2 separate regions of the Homo sapiens genome follow, and region 2 is linked to region 1. Evidence: promoter capture Hi-C in 16 types of primary human blood cells and fetal thymus (Javierre and others, 2016). All regions are on one chromosome and are shown on one strand. The core of a region is centred on a gene start or on the middle of the fragment in contact, and the rest is flanking DNA. Distances in the headings are between cores, read along the strand shown. Region 1 overlaps OTUD7B (OTU deubiquitinase 7B). Region 2 holds the start of H2AC18 (H2A clustered histone 18).

Region 1 (3,558 bases), core at 782-3,281:
TGTTTCTTCCTCAAAAACAAATAATCCAGTTGTTAAAAGTAGATGATATTAAGATCAGAATCCTCTCCTTGAGCAGCCAGTCTTCCCCAGAAGATTCCTGAGGGAAATAAACCCACAGGGGCAAGGCCACATAAGTACTTGACATTCTTTTTTAGCACCAAAAGCTTGGCTGGATCTCGTGGAAAGCTTTTGCCTGAGCTAGAGCTAGCCTAGAATTTAGAATCCAGAGCAAATCAGTAGTCAGTTTTGTGGTAGTCAGCTTTGTCCTCTTCACTGTTGAGTTCAGATAATACCGGAACCTTAACCACTGCAGAGGCAAGAAAAGGCCAAACCAGAACATGCCAACTATTAAGTAGAAATGACAGCAACACCCAGAAAATTAAGTGTGCCCAATTCCAGTTATTAAAGCAATTAGTTATTATTCTAAAGATGGGGTTAGATTATAATGGTATTTAGCCAGGAAACCCAGAAATACCCACGTTCTATCCTTGGCCAGCCAGCCTTTCCCTCTCAAAGTCAGCCTTTCCATCTGAAAGTCCCCAACATGCATAGAGAATAGTGGCTAGTAATGGAGCAATAGTTTTAGTCCTTTTGCTCAGCACAGTGAAAGTTCATACTGAAAATGTGGCTTTCATAATTGTCTTAGCTTAGACCATTCATAGCATTATTACCCACCTTGGGAGTGGGAATGGTAGGAGGAGGATAATGAACTGGGGAAGCTTCCTTTAGCTCCCCAGTACCAAAACCACACTAAATAAGTTTTGATTTCCTGGGCTTCCTTGTTTTATGTTGAAATTGGTGGTGAGGCTCAGTAATAGTTTCTTAAATGTTAAGGCTAGAAGTTGTACACCACCTAGTGGCTGTGTACATTAAAACAGGAAGCAGAAACCGGCCAGGAAGAGGGAGCCGGATCTGGATGTGTCTATTGGAGTGACTGCAGCACTCCATATAGAACCTGGGCATTGCTCTCTTTATTTTTAATTGAAGTAAAATTTGTGATAGCATTTTACAAATTGAAAATAGCTGTGTCATTTAAAAAATTCCCATTAAATTTGTTCCCAGTACCCCTCATGTTTCCAGTGATTTCCTTCTACTCTGTCAGTGTGCGGTTAAGCCGTATAGACTCATTTTAATACTAATGTCAGCCAAATAAAATTAATAAGTTAAACTTATTTCCCTTATCATTATATACATCCTAAAGCCAATGTATTTTAAAATTGCTTGTACCATTGCCTGCTCTCCTTTGATAAAAATTGTAGTTTCACTTAGCATATGTTTATTGATTATAGTCACAAAATAGACCTTGGGTGTATTGCATAAAACATGATCCTAGCATAGAGGAGGAGATGGACATGTAAATACATAATTGCAACAGGTTATAACATGTATGACTCTTACAATAGACGTCTCTATAGCAGTTAATGCTGGCCGGATGCGGTGGCTCATGCCTGTAATCCCAGCACTTTGGAAGGCCAAGGCAGGCGGATCACCTGTTGGTAGTTCGAGACCAGCCTGGCCAACATGGTGAAACCCCGTCTTTACTAAAAATACAAAACTAGCCAGGCATGGTGGTGTGCACGTGTAGTCCCAGCTACTCCGGAGGCTGAGGCAGGAGAATTGCTTGAACCTGGGAGGTGGAGGTTGCAGTGAGCCAAGATCATGCCACCACACTCCATCCTGGGTGACAGAGCAAGACTTTGTCTCAAACAAACAAACAAAAAAACAACAACAACTCTATAGCAGTTAGGGAGAGAGGATACAAAGGAAGGAGTGGTTGATCTGCCAAGGGAGATTTAGAAGACTATTTGGAGGAATGATACCTGAGTTCTGTCCTAAAAGTTGAGAAATTGTTCACAAGGTTGACAGAAAGTGAGCTACTCCAGGCAGAAGGAACAGCTTAGACAAAAGCTCAGTGGTATAAAACAACATGGTATATTTCAGGAACTACAGCTGATTCAGTGAGATATATCTGACTAGAGAAGTGGGTAGGGGCCAGAAAGTAGGCTTTGTATGCAGCACTTCTACTTGGGAGGCTGAGGCAGGAGAATTGCTTGAACCCGGGAGGTGGAGGTTGCAGTGAGCTGAGATCGTTCCACTGTACTCCAGCCTGGGCGACAGAGTGAGACTCTGTCTCAAAAAAAAAAAAAAAAAAAAAGAAGGTATCCAGGTGTGGGGTGGGTGAAAGAAAGAAAGGAATATTAGATAATTCCTTGGTTTTGAGCTTGGATGTTTGGGTGATAGTTGGTGCTATTCACTAAGGTAGGAAAATAGGAAGAAGAGTGGGTTTGGGAAAAAACAGGAGTTCTATTTTGACTTTACAGAGTTTGAGGTAGCCATGGGCAGGTGGCAGTCTCCAGTAGGTAGCTGGATATATGAATATAGAAATTAAGAAGTCTAGGCTGAGTGCAGTGCCTCATGCCTGTAATCCCAGCATTTTGGGTGGCTGAGACAGGCAGATCACCAGGTCAGGAGTTCGAGACCAGCCTGGCCAACATGGGGAAAGCCCGTCTCTACTAAAAATACAAAAATTAGCTGGGCCTGGTGGTGGGTGCTGTAATCCCAGCTACTCGAGAGGCTGAGGCAGGAGAAGCATTTGAACCCGGGAGGTGAAGTTTGCAGTGAGCCGAGATTGTGCCATTGCACTCCAGCCTGGGTGACTCTGTCTACAAAAAAAAAAAAAAGAAAAAAAGGAAAGAAAAGAAAAAGAAAAGAAATTAAGAAATCTGGGCTGGAGATAGATGGTATATACCATACAGATGGTAGTGGATGAGATTATGGCAGTAGAAGAGATCACCCAGAGGGAACCAAGGTGAAAATCATTGACACACCACTAGTATTTTGGGGGCAGACAGAATTTAGAGGAATAGAAAGTAATTTTATGGACGCTAATGGCAAAGAAAATTTAAAGAGGAAAATAACCCATGTGAAGGCTAAGATGGGAACCAGGGTCCACTGAATGTGGCAATTAGAAGGTCATTGTTCTTTGCCAAAATCAGGTAGGTGAAATGTTATGTGGCAGGTGGGTGAGCAGGATGGAGGGCAGAAATGGGACAGATTGCAGTAGGTCAAAAAGAATGGATGATAAAGAAGTTTAATAGTCATAGACTATTAGTTCATGGATCTTGACTGTAAAAGAGATAAGAGATTTGACTTTGTAGTACAATTTGTAAACCAAGTGCTAAGGGATTAGGGAGTAAGTAACAGTGAATAAGGTGGAATAGGTATTGCCTCTTAGAACCCAGCCTCTAATTGCCCAATGTCCCCTGCCTGTCCTTCACACAGTCAGGGCTGGTATACACAGAAGATGAATGGCAGAAGGAGTGGAATGAACTGATCAAGCTTGCCTCAAGTGAACCCCGAATGCATCTAGGTACCAATGGAGCCAACTGTGGTGGGTAAGTATGGCTAAGTAGGGGAGGAGGAAACCTGCATAGAGTCCTCACTGGGCTTCCACAGCCCAGTGTCTAGAGAGCTCTGTGCTAAGAGGATATTAGAAGGAAAGAGGGGAACTATGCTAAGGGCACAAAAGTGTGTAACAACATGATATGTTTAGGAACT
Region 2 (3,558 bases), core at 358-2,857, 120 kb after region 1:
GGTTACCAAACTTATGAATCACCTGGTGTTGTGTCATAGATTGTCTATCCTTGCCTCTCGCCCCCAGTGATTTAGATCAGTGGAACTATGTGGGGTTTAAGAAATATACAATATATATTTGTATATATTTGTGTGTCTCGAAAGCTTCAGGGTTAAATAAGTTTTAACTGTTTAGGAAACACTATTGTTTTAGGTATCCAGTCTCAAAGACGAAGGCCTTTAAAACTTACTTAATTTTTCATTACATTTCTTGCCCAGAAAATTGTAAAATACCCAACGATAACAATGGGGAATTGTCTATCAGCACTTGACTAAAAAGCTTTACTATCCATGACAGCAGCCTTTGCATTACTCAATTCTGATGGCATTTAACGTCTTGAAACCCAGAAATAAATACCTATAGACTCACAGTACCTGAAAGGAATACCAAATTGAGACAAGAGAGCTATATAAACCAAAAATTGCTTCAACCACAGAATGGAGGTCTACAGGTGCGGAAGGAAAGTTTATATGGTGAGGCTTGGTCGCAAAACTATTAGGAATATTTTCAGGTTACTACACAATTTTGCGAGCTCAATATGCAGTTAACACTTTTTCCCTTGACTCTCCTGAGCAGATTTACATTGACCGCACCCGTAGCATATCGTCTCACTTTGGAAAAGGCAAATTATGTGCACATGACCCTGTCACTACAAGGTAGTTCTCGACCAAGCTACATCTTATAGCTTTATCTTATATTCCTCTCCCATCATCTGCAGGAAAAGGGATAGGTGCTGAGGGAAAACCCCTAAGTAGAACTCACAGTAAGCAGTGGGAAAACAGCTTATTTCACTAACGGGGTTAAGTGGCCCTGAAAAGAGCCTTTGGAGACAAAGCAGCCGGCGACCCGCGGAGGGAGGGAGGGAGGGAGCGAGCGAGCGCCAGGTCCCGGCAGGGACTCACTTGGAGCTGGCGTACTTGGTGACCGCCTTGGTGCCCTCGGACACGGCGTGCTTGGCCAGCTCGCCGGGCAGCAGCAGGCGCACGGCCGTCTGGATCTCCGGGACGTGATGGTGGAGCGCTTGTTGTAGTGCGCCAGGCGGGACGCCTCTCCCGCGATGCGCTCGAAGATGTCGTTGAGGAAGGAGTTCATGATGCCCATGGCCTTGCACCAGATGCCGGTGTCGGGGTGGACCCGCTTCAGCACCTTGTACACGTAGATGGAGTAGCTCTCCTTGCGGCTGCGCTTGCGCTTCTTGCCGTCTTTCTTCTGGGCTTTGGTGACGGCTTTCTTGGAGCCCTTCTTGGGAGCCGGCGCGAACTTTGCAGGCTCAGGCATGGCCAGACCCAAGACCGACACCGACCCCCGAGAACGCAAGCAGAGCGGTAGGCTCGGGGTCTACCGGAAACGACTGTGTACTTACAGAGGCTGTGCGCATGACGCTGCGTTATGGTTCGCGAGTTTTCCGCGGCGCGCAATGCGAGGGAGACGAGATTATGTAAATGAGTGGATTCTGGCTGAGCTATCCTATTGGCTATCGGGACAAAATTTGCTTGAGCCAATCAAAGTGCTCCGTGGACAATCGCCGTTCTGTCTATAAAAAGGTGAAGCAGCGGCGTTTTCGGCGACTTTCCCGATCGCCAGGCAGGAGTTTCTCTCGGTGACTACTATCGCTGTCATGTCTGGTCGTGGCAAGCAAGGAGGCAAGGCCCGCGCCAAGGCCAAGTCGCGCTCGTCCCGCGCTGGCCTTCAGTTCCCGGTAGGGCGAGTGCATCGCTTGCTGCGCAAAGGCAACTACGCGGAGCGAGTGGGGGCCGGCGCGCCCGTCTACATGGCTGCGGTCCTCGAGTATCTGACCGCCGAGATCCTGGAGCTGGCGGGCAACGCGGCTCGGGACAACAAGAAGACGCGCATCATCCCTCGTCACCTCCAGCTGGCCATCCGCAACGACGAGGAACTGAACAAGCTGCTGGGCAAAGTCACCATCGCCCAGGGCGGCGTCTTGCCTAACATCCAGGCCGTACTGCTCCCTAAGAAGACGGAGAGTCACCACAAGGCAAAGGGCAAGTGAGGCTGACGTCCGGCCCAAGTGGGCCCAGCCCGGCCCGCGTCTCGAAGGGGCACCTGTGAACTCAAAAGGCTCTTTTCAGAGCCACCCACGTTTTCAAATAAAAGAGTTGTTAATGCTGGCCACTCTCAGTCCAGCGTTCCTCAGTAGTGAATAGCGAACCTGGAGCTGACGGGACGGGACGGGACGGGACGGGACGGGACGGGGCGGGGCGGGGCGGGGTGTGTGTGTGTGCGCGCCGTCTTCCATCTGGAGCACGTAACTGCCTTGGCTCTTCGATGAGTGGGTCCCCAGTCCTAGGACTTCCCAGGGCAGGTGCAGGCACCAAACGTCCTGGGCGCCGCCACGGTCCGCTCCACACAGTCACAAACACCAGCGCCGCGGGCAGTACCCAACGCGCTGAAGTGTTGCGCGCGGAGCGCGCGCTTCCCTAGTGGTTTCCGCAGGCTATGGCCGGACACTTAGACCTAGTCTGGCACCAGCGGGACGTGCTCCTCGTCCCCACCCCCGATGGGGAGGGCCCTGAGCGGGTAGTGCTCGCTAGTGTGGCGGAGCTGGGTCTTGGCTTCACTGAGCTGACTTAAGTCTTAGTTTCTGTTTTGTTTTCCAAAGCGCCCTGGCGGCGGAGAGTAAGGGCCTCGGAGGCGGAATCTTGCGTCCTGGGGGCGGGCACCTCTCCCACCCAAAAGGCACCCGACAGGCGAAAAACGATCCGCCAAGTAGCAACTGGGGGCGGGGGGCAAATGGAAGAATGAGGTTCCACGCGGGAGCTGTAGGGCGCAGCAAGAAAGGGGGGGTATTGCGGGCAGTGTGTTCTAAGGAAGCGAAGGGCGGAAAGGGAACAATCTGACAAAGCTGCAATGGAAAATGACTTTCACCCTGAAGGAAAGGGGAAAAACAAGCTTGCGAAACTTCGCCAACTGGTAAGTAGAAAGTGAGGCGGGGTGGGCGGGATTAGGGAGGAATCTGCCCAAGCCAACCGGTGACTTTAGGACGGGTGACGTCACAGCCAATGGACAGCCAGCGCGGGATTTTCAATTATTGTTCCGCCCAATCGGGAAAAGACTGTGCTTATAAAGACGGCTGCGGCGGGGCTAGGAGCTCGTTTTTCTCCCCGCCGCTGCGCTGGTAAGCCTGTGTTTTGGTTCGCTATGGCCCGTACTAAGCAGACTGCTCGCAAGTCGACCGGCGGCAAGGCCCCGAGGAAGCAGCTGGCCACCAAGGCGGCCCGCAAGAGCGCGCCGGCCACGGGCGGGGTGAAGAAGCCGCACCGCTACCGGCCCGGCACCGTAGCCCTGCGGGAGATCCGGCGCTACCAGAAGTCCACGGAGCTGCTGATCCGCAAGCTGCCCTTCCAGCGGCTGGTACGCGAGATCGCGCAGGACTTTAAGACGGACCTGCGCTTCCAGAGCTCGGCCGTGATGGCGCTGCAGGAGGCCAGCGAGGCCTACCTGGTGGGGCTGTTCGAAGACACGAACCTGTGCGCCATCCACGCCAAGCGCGTGACCAT

What was found. The method cuts DNA at HindIII sites, captures the fragments that hold promoters and counts their contacts. A CHiCAGO score of 5 or more calls a contact.
Region 2: the fragment with the promoter of H2AC18 here is called in contact with a fragment that was not itself captured in region 1 in 9 of 17 cell types (naive CD8 T cells, total CD8 T cells, total CD4 T cells and 6 more); the score reaches 7.3 in naive CD8 T cells.

The regions. Positions count from the first base shown.
Region 1 is chr1:149,959,521-149,963,078 of GRCh38, reverse strand. It overlaps OTUD7B (OTU deubiquitinase 7B), which reads left to right. Exons shown (of 12, transcript NM_020205.4): 7 at 3,283-3,395. Among named protein-coding and RNA genes, the nearest start is that of MTMR11, 24 kb to the right of the region's middle. The HindIII fragment of the contact is 2,620 bases long and covers 722-3,341 here.
Region 2 is chr1:149,840,799-149,844,356 of GRCh38, reverse strand. It overlaps H2AC18 (H2A clustered histone 18), which reads left to right and starts at 1,607. Exons shown (of 1, transcript NM_003516.3): 1 at 1,607-2,139. The coding sequence starts at 1,659. The coding sequence ends at 2,051. H3C14 (H3 clustered histone 14) reads left to right here and starts at 3,149. Exons shown (of 1, transcript NM_021059.3): 1 at 3,149-3,558. The coding sequence starts at 3,200. It also overlaps the pseudogene H2BC19P. RefSeq lists an enhancer at 3,308-3,558. The HindIII fragment of the contact is 2,631 bases long and covers 322-2,952 here.